3 separate regions of the Homo sapiens genome follow, and regions 2 and 3 are each linked to region 1. Evidence: promoter capture Hi-C in 16 types of primary human blood cells and fetal thymus (Javierre and others, 2016). All regions are on one chromosome and are shown on one strand. Each heading gives the region's core, a stretch centred on a gene start or on the middle of the fragment in contact. The rest is flanking DNA. Distances are from core to core; before and after follow the strand shown. Region 1 holds the start of S100A2 (S100 calcium binding protein A2). Region 2 holds the start of CREB3L4 (cAMP responsive element binding protein 3 like 4). Region 3 holds the start of GATAD2B (GATA zinc finger domain containing 2B).

Region 1 (2,629 bases), core at 85-2,584:
GGGGCATGGATAGGGTGGGGGCAACTTAACATTCTCTCCACCAGGAAGGATCCTGTTGGAATTAGAATTAAAGATATGAAATGTTCATTGCCTTGGGATCAGGATGGGACAGACCTCAGCGGCAAGGCCTCTGAGAATACTCAGACCAGCCTGGAAAGGTTAGGCAGGTTTCAGGGTGAGGCCAGAGGAGCTATGCCAGAGGCAGGGCATGCCCTGGGCCCATCATGCCAGCCCTGCCTTCACCGAGGCAGGGGGCAGAGCTTTGCTGCTTGGGGCCATGACCCAGGCAGAGTCTTGAGACCCCTGCCTCTTGCACCTTAGTCCTGCTAGAATCCAGGACTTTGCAAAAAAAAAAAAAAATCTCAGGATTCTTTTTGCAGCAACGCCCACATGCACACCTCCTGCTCCTAGGCCTAGACCCCCAAAGAAGGGCCCCTAGACTGAGATATCCAGGGGAGGGCCTCAGAGCAACCCCTGCACTGAGACCTCACAGAGGAACCTGGAGAAAAACCCTTCAGTCGGCCGGGCGCGGTGGCTTACTCCTGTAATCCCAGCACTTTGGGAGGCCGAGATGGGTGGATCACGAGATCAGGAGATCGAGACCATCCTGGCTAACATGGTGAAACCCCATCTCTACTAAAAATACAAAAAAATTAGCCGGGCATGGTGGTGGGCGCCTGCAGTCCCAGCTACTCGGGAGGCTGAGGCAGGAGAATGGCGTGAACCTGGGAGGGGGAGTTTGCAGTGAGCTGAGATCACACCACTGTACTCCAGCCTGGGCGACAGAGCGAGACTCCATCTCAAAAAAAAAAAAAAAAAAAAAAAACCCTTCAGTCAACACTTCAGCACTTCACAGAGAGTTCTTCCAAGGGGGAAGGCCCAGAGAGGCCCAGGTTGATCCCACCAGGGAAGCTGGAATGAGAGAACTGTGGAGACAAAGACAGAGACCCACGGGGATCCTCCCCACCCTGCCCTCAGCAGGACAGAGGTACTCACCAGACCAGGTGGCAGAGACAGACCCAGGAAGGAGAGCAAGGCAGCCAGGCTCCCAGGGTGAGGATTTATATGTGGGCCCCACTGGCCCCCAACTTGGCATTTTAAGGAAACCAAACCTGCCTCAACCTGATCCCACCAAACCCTGGCCTCTTGCCATTCCCACTCATTCCCTCCCAGCCCCCTCCCTCCCAGAGAGTGCCAGCTCCACCACCAGCTGGGGGAGGGCTCTAGGCCAGGTCAAGGGCAGCCCCTGAGCCCACCCAGGCCACAGTGGGAAGTGGGAGGTGTCGTGGGGACTGGGCATCCTGGACCGGGGTGAGGGGAGGCAACCCCTGCTCTGGGGCCTGGAGACTGGTGCCAGGCCTCATTCTCATGACATGCCTGTGAGTCACAGCCCACTCCTGTGTGAGAGGCTGTGAGCACACGCTGAGACTTCATGGTCCAGTGCTCGTGTACATACATGCGCCCGTGTGTGTGAGAGAGAAGCAACCTGGGGCCACCCTTAGGAAGCTGGGGGCCAGAGGAGGCAGCTGGGGGACATCAGGAGGAGAAGGACAGGACTGACTTCAGGGCATGGATGAAGTGGAGTGACTTTTAATGGCCAGCACCAGAATACCTCTTAATGAGGTAATGAGGTAACTAAGTGTGCTTAGAAATACCTGGGAAGGTCCCTCTGTGTAGGAAGGTGTCTGGAAGGATGGGGAAGCAGTGAGAAATGGGGTTGCTCTACACACAGCCGCAGTTGGGCTGGGCCACAGTCTGTGGGGAGCATAAGGAAGTCCCGAGTAGTTAAAGGCTGAACAGGAAAACTTTGGCCTCCTCTTCTCCAGCTTGAGGGCTGGGTGGGTGGGTAGGGGTACATCCCTACCCAAGGCTGAAAACACCAGCTGGACAGCTTCCCAAGCCAGAATCCAGGCCTGAAGCACAGCCCTCAGCCACAGCCCTCTCTCACTGCCCCCCACACACATGTCCTCCCCAGACCCGGAGAAAGGCAAACACTGTGGCCATTCAGAGCCCAGCCCAAGGGAGGGCTGCCCCCTCCCAGGGCCCCTTCCTCCTTGGCCCTTTGTCTATCCCGGCCCGTCTGGGCATCAGGGCACCGCCCTTCCTGTGGCCCCAGCTCCCCTCCCTGCTCCAGCTGTCGAGTAGCTTCTTCCCCTCCCCCAGCCCCTCTACCTCAGCCCTAAGTGACTCACCCGAGGTTCCAGGCCCAGATGCCCAGGCAGTGACTCAGCGGCACACCCTCCTCCCCCAGGGCCAGGGCAGCAGCAGTCCCAGAGCAGTAGGTGGAAGCCCCAGCCCAGCCTGGCAGGGAAAGCACTGGCACAGAGACCCCAAACAGGCCCTGCCAGGAGGAGCTTTGGATAATGACATGGCAGGAGGATCAGACTGAGAACAGGCTGGTCCCTTCCTAGCGGTCACCGTGTGACTTGGGGGCCAGCCTGAGCAGTGTACATGAAGTCAGGCCTTGGGGCCCCCAGTGTCCTCTTCTACACCTTGGCACAGCCACCGAGTGTCCCTTGCTCCCCTCAGTACTTGAACCCCTCATGCTACTTGTCTTCCCATCGAGGCCTACTTCAAGTAGAACTCGGAATAAAAACCCTTCACACTGAGGGTGAGGGACAAGGGAGCG
Region 2 (2,629 bases), core at 130-2,629, 400 kb after region 1:
AGGGAGGCTGAGGCAGGAGAATGGCGTGAACCCGGGAGGCGGAGCTTGCAGTGAGCCGAGATCGAGCCTCTGCACTCCAGCCTGGGCCACAGAGCAAAAGAAAAACAAACAAACAAACTTGTCAGCTCCATCTGCTGTAAGAATTATATGAGTAACATGGAAATGCCTGACTAGACCCTGTTCCCGTTTTTACCCTTAGCCCGTTCAAATCTTCATAAGGATAATTAGTAGCAGTTTGAGTTCTGGGATTCACACTCCAAACTACTGTTTTACTCACCCAGCTACCCTTTTCTGAAATACTACTGAAAACCATACCTGTATCAGTTTACCTCCATTGTTTTACTTGAAGTGAATTCCTGGACCATCAGACATTAGACCAAGGCAAAAAAATAAAAATAATCAATCAACCCTGAGTTTTGGTATTACTACTTTCTAGTCATGGATCTGCCTCCTCATAGGTAAAATTTGCAAAATATTACCCGCCGTGTGTGCCTCAGAACTGTTATGGATTAAGGAAGAGAACAATTTTTATGAAAACGTTTTGTAAATTATACAAGTGTGGGACATAATGTTCCCGGTAACTGTATGCAAACAATAAGACAACAAACGCAAAAGGCTTTTTAACTTGTTGCAGTTTTCCTGCCCCGTGTCCCTCCGTGAATGAGCAGCGTGCAGCGAGCGTGTGCGCACAGCTGCTGTTCTCCATTAACGCCACACTGCTCGGCTTGCGGACGGGGAAACCCGCCATCGCGCTCCTGCCGCCTGCCGAGCGAGGATCACCGCTCCACTGGGGTCAGCGGGCTGTTGACTCCCCGCCTGGGTGAAACCGGAGCTTCCGAGTCACGTGGCGCGCGAAGACAAACCTGGCTGCTCAGGGTTTCCCGGAGCTTTCTCCCAGCTTCCCGGCGATTCATATTCTGGCGCTTACCCCTCCCTTTAGGCTGGCGGAACCCAATCCCCGCCTGACAAATAAGTCCCGCCGGCCGGACGCAGTGGCTCGCGCCTGTGGTCCTAGCTGCTCGCGGTGCTGAGGCGGGAGAATCACCTGAGCCCGGGAGGTCGGGGGCTGCATGGAACCGTGATCGCACCACCGCACTCCAGCCTGGGCAACAGAGCGAGACCCTGTCTCCAAAAATAAGAATAAAGAAAAAAAAAAGAAAGAACTGCGGCCCCATTGGCCTGACTCTCCTGAACAGCCAAACTGTCTCCGACCAGTTACGGAAGAGGCGGCCTTGAGAGGGTAGTGTGCCATTGGCTCGATGTCCTGCCCCTCCGAAACCTAAGTCTTCAGCTTCCAATCAGGACTCAGCTTTGGGAAGAGCGCCACGCGGTGGGCGAGGGGATGCCCTAGTAAATTCGCAGGTCTCTTGACTCTTTCCGCCTTTGTTTACAACCCTGCCATGATCTCCCTCTTGCAAAAGCGAGGGCTACAGAACAGGCATTCAGGAGTCCTGTGCTCCAGTCACAGCCTTTTCTGTTCTTCAGCTAGGAGACACCAAACCCTCAGGAAGATTTACTATAGCTAAGAGAAAACTGCAGCAGAAAGGGCGCGGCTACCTACTTCTTAAATTCCGTTTGTGGACCCTCAGACTCTTAGTCCCCTACTCCCAGATACAGCGGCCCTACCGTGGCTCCTGGCAAGGTGGCATCCACTTTTGTAGTGTAAGGCTGGGGGCGGGGTTTGGCTGGCAGGTCCAGGATACGAGATCCTGGAAGAAAGAAAAGGTGTAGTGTTTGGGGAGGTCAACGGGCTATGCTGGCTTGACAGGGCTGGGCTCTTCAGAACAGGTAATGCTTGGGGGGGGCCTCTTTGTCTAAACCTGAGGGATAGGGCTGAAGGTGAAATATCGAGGGGACAGGTGAGGGGGCTTGCTAGTGAGGAAGGAGTGGGGGGGCGGGGATAATGGAAAAGGGAGCAGAGGAGCCCAGAAACTGTAGGGGGTAGTAAGCAGCCATCATTCCGTTTCTGCAACCCTCCGTCCCACACGCCTTCCTGCAGAAGCATGGATCTCGGAATCCCTGACCTGCTGGACGCGTGGCTGGAGCCCCCAGAGGATATCTTCTCGACAGGATCCGTCCTGGAGCTGGGACTCCACTGCCCCCCTCCAGAGGTTCCGGTAACTAGGCTACAGGAACAGGGACTGCAAGGCTGGAAGTCCGGTGGGGACCGTGGCTGTGTGAGTGTGACGAGTGGGAGTGGGGGTGGGGTTGAGACACAACTCTGTGATAAGAGGCTTCAGCTCCCACTTGGAGACAGGTCTGAAAACAGACCACCCCCAAAATAGACGTAAGTTGTATAATAACTGTCTCCATGCCCAAGAAGTGAAAGGACTGAAAATGAAGCATAAGTCAGGGAGGACTTCCAAAATTCTTCCCTGCACATATATATAACCTTTTCCTACTGTAGGGCCTTCAAGAGAGTGAGCCTGAAGATTTCTTGAAGCTTTTCATTGATCCCAATGAGGTGTACTGCTCAGAAGCATCTCCTGGCAGTGACAGTGGCATCTCTGAGGACCCCTGCCATCCAGACAGTCCCCCTGCCCCCAGGGCAACCAGTTCTCCTATGCTCTATGAGGTTGTCTATGAGGCAGGGGCCCTGGAGAGGATGCAGGGGGAAACTGGGCCAAAT
Region 3 (2,629 bases), core at 75-2,574, 360 kb after region 1:
GAGAAAACTGGTTCTCAGGAGGCTACCTGATTTTCCAGGGGACAACAGAGAAAAGGTTGCTAGCTAGCTCAGTTAGCATCCACATGCCACCCACCACCAAGCCTCCATCTCCACCTCACTGCCAGCCCTATGAGCTAACATCTTGTGTTTGGAAGTTGATGCTGGGGAAGAATCCAAAGAGGCTACCATACCTTTATGAAACGGGAAAGCTGTACCGGGCGCGCGAATGGCACCTGAACCTCTGCACTCGCATGAGTGGCTCGCTCCTCAATGTAATTGAGAGCAGGGAGGCCAAAAGTACTCTAAGTCCCGGTGTGGTTAGGGAAGGGTAAGTTCCACCGACCCTCAGGAACTGAACTGGAAGACAGATCCAGTGTGTCCCACAAGCCCAGTCGCTGTAGAAGCTAAGTGCCCACATAGCCTGAGACAATTCTCTTCCCCTACGGGAGGGCGAGCGAACGGTGGACGACGAAATAAAGGGGTAAGGTTATGCGCTCCTGATCCCTTTCCCTAAATAAAGATAATTATCTGGTGCTTCCTTTACCCTTAGATTCCCCATTCGTCCCATCCGCCCGCAAACACAAGACTGAGCAGGGAGCGGCCCCCGCACCCTGAGGGCACCACTGGGGGTGGAGAGAGTTAAAAAAAAAAAGGGGGGGGCGCGCTAGAGAGGAAAGGAGGGGAGCATGGCGGGCATGAGGCAGGGAGTGAAAGCGGGGATGGCGGGGGAAACGGGGCGTGAGGGAGGGGAGAAAGAGTACAAGGAGACGAAATGAAGGGACACGAGCTGGGGGCGCGCGAGGCCGAAGTGAAAGACCGGGTCGCGCGCGCCAAGGGGGGAGAGGATGAGGTGAAGAAGGAGCGCGAGGCGGGGGCGCGCCGTGCCGGGGTGGGGGGAGGGGGACGCAAGGCGGGGGCGCGCGGGCGGGCGTCGGCTCGCGGGCGCTTCCCCTCCCCCCGCCCCTCCACCTTTCCCTTCCCCCACCTCCGCCACCACTGCCTCCTCCCAGCCTCCTTCCCTTCCTCGCTCCTCACCGCCCCCGGGCGGGCGGGCGGCCAGGCTGGCCTAGGCCAAAGCTCCTCACCTGGCGGTGGCGGTGTAACTCCCGGCTAGCTCGCCTCCTCAGGCGGCGGCGGAGGCGTCGAAAAAGGAAGAGGCGACGGCACAGGGGATCCAGACCCTGCTGACGGGACTAGGGACGGGGGTAGGGGAGGGGGGCGGGCCGGACCGGGGCGGGCGGGCGGAGCAGACACTGCGGTACAGACGGGGGCAGCGGCGGCGGCGACGGCTGCACCGGCGGCGGCGGCACCACACAAACAAGGACGCTGATTGGGCAGCTGCCAAGCGCCTCGGCTCCGCCTTACCCACACGCCACGACGCCCATTGGGCGACCTAAGCCGGCCACCCCGCCCTCATCTTCTCGGCCATGCCAGTAGAAGACTAGATGCCGGGACTTCACCCCACCCTTGAAGAATGAGTGGCCGGAGAAGTGATGATTGGCGTGCTTAAAACCCAATCATAAACGGAGGAGGGGGGATGGTCTAGCGGGGGCGCGTTAATGGGTACCTCTGCCAGTCCCAGACACATCCGGGTCTTCGACAGCCCATTAAGTGTCGGGGGTCAAAAAATCGCTTCAGGCTGCAACTTTACCTTAGAGACGTTTTGGTCCCCAGGCAGCCGCCGTACCCCAGTCTCTCCAAACCGGGATTCCCCTTTGGCCATCTCTCATTCTTTCAATTCTAAAGATGGAGACTGGCGAACGGCGATGGGGTCTGCGGTGGGCGGTGTTTCGTCGCGACAGACTCTAGGAAATTTCACGATAGAACTAGCTTTAGGCGCTTGAGCCTTGCCGTCTTTTTGGGGTGTGGCCTGTCTCCGTCTGCCAAAGGCTTTGAGCTTCCTGGTGTTCATCGTACCTCCGCTTGGTCCTGTCGTGACTAAACCACGACAGCAGGAAAAAAAAAAAAGCAGCTAGCCAAGTTGCTGAGGAATTACGGTGTGCAGAGCCCTCGCAGCTCCTTCTCTTGGGAACTCCTGGTCTGGTTAGGTTCTCAGCGAGGAAACAGCCTCCCACCCCGCCCGATTCCACCTAATTAACTCAAGGGCCAGCTCCTTTTGCTGGCCTCCCTGCTTCCACGGAGCAGTTAGGCCCGCCTAAACTCAGCGAGCGTTTCTGGAGCACCTTGAGGATAGGGACCAAGTAACAGAGTCCGGGTGTTAAGGTTATGATAGTAGTTAACGTTTTTGGAAAGAGACTGTGTCAGGCTCTGTGCTAAGAACTTTACATGAAGTATTTATTCCTCATGACTGTGAGGTAGGTACTGTTATCCCTACTTTACAAATGAGGAAAATTAGGATCAAAAAATTTGTCCAGTTACACGTTAAGTGGTAGAGCTGAAATTTGAACCCAAGTAGATGAGGAAACTAAGGCTCAGAGAGGTTAAGTAACTTGCCAAAGGTCAGACCGCTAGTTAGTGACTAAGCAGTGGTTTAAACCCAGAAACAACTGGTTCCACAGGCATTTTGTTATTGTTGTTTTCTCACTGTGTCTCCCAGGCTGGAGTGCAGTGGTACAATCTCAGTTCCTGCAACCTCCGCCTCCCAGGTTCAAACGATCCTCCTGCCTCA

Evidence for each region. Contacts are between HindIII fragments. The CHiCAGO score rates a contact against its expected background, and 5 or more counts as called.
Region 2: the fragment with the promoter of CREB3L4 here is called in contact with the fragment with the promoter of S100A2 in region 1 in 7 of 17 cell types (total B cells, erythroblasts, monocytes and 4 more); the score reaches 6.4 in total B cells.
Region 3: a contact is called between the fragment with the promoter of GATAD2B here and the fragment with the promoter of S100A2 in region 1, in 3 of 17 cell types (neutrophils, naive B cells and erythroblasts). The highest score is 6.8, in neutrophils.

The regions. Positions count from the first base shown.
Region 1 is chr1:153,564,510-153,567,138 of GRCh38, forward strand. S100A2 (S100 calcium binding protein A2) reads right to left here and starts at 1,335. Exons shown (of 3, transcript NM_005978.4): 1 at 997-1,335. RefSeq lists enhancers at 1-449, 450-1,207, 1,327-1,386, 1,360-2,559, 2,257-2,496. The HindIII fragment of the contact is 6,475 bases long and covers 1-2,629 here.
Region 2 is chr1:153,966,523-153,969,151 of GRCh38, forward strand. It overlaps CREB3L4 (cAMP responsive element binding protein 3 like 4), which reads left to right and starts at 1,380. Exons shown (of 10, transcript NM_001255978.2): 1 at 1,380-1,642; 2 at 2,000-2,177; 3 at 2,408-2,629. The coding sequence starts at 2,004. It also overlaps a transcript of SLC39A1 not described here. RefSeq lists enhancers at 666-1,522, 957-1,176, 1,387-1,496, 1,527-1,646 and a silencer at 1,137-1,638. The HindIII fragment of the contact is 4,469 bases long and covers 1-2,441 here.
Region 3 is chr1:153,921,648-153,924,276 of GRCh38, forward strand. GATAD2B (GATA zinc finger domain containing 2B) reads right to left here and starts at 1,325. Exons shown (of 11, transcript NM_020699.4): 1 at 1,086-1,325. It overlaps LOC101928059 (a long non-coding RNA gene), which reads left to right and starts at 1,726. Exons shown (of 4, transcript XR_922160.3): 1 at 1,726-2,315. RefSeq lists silencers at 1,109-1,428, 2,106-2,400 and an enhancer at 1,559-1,798. The HindIII fragment of the contact is 8,959 bases long and covers 1-2,629 here.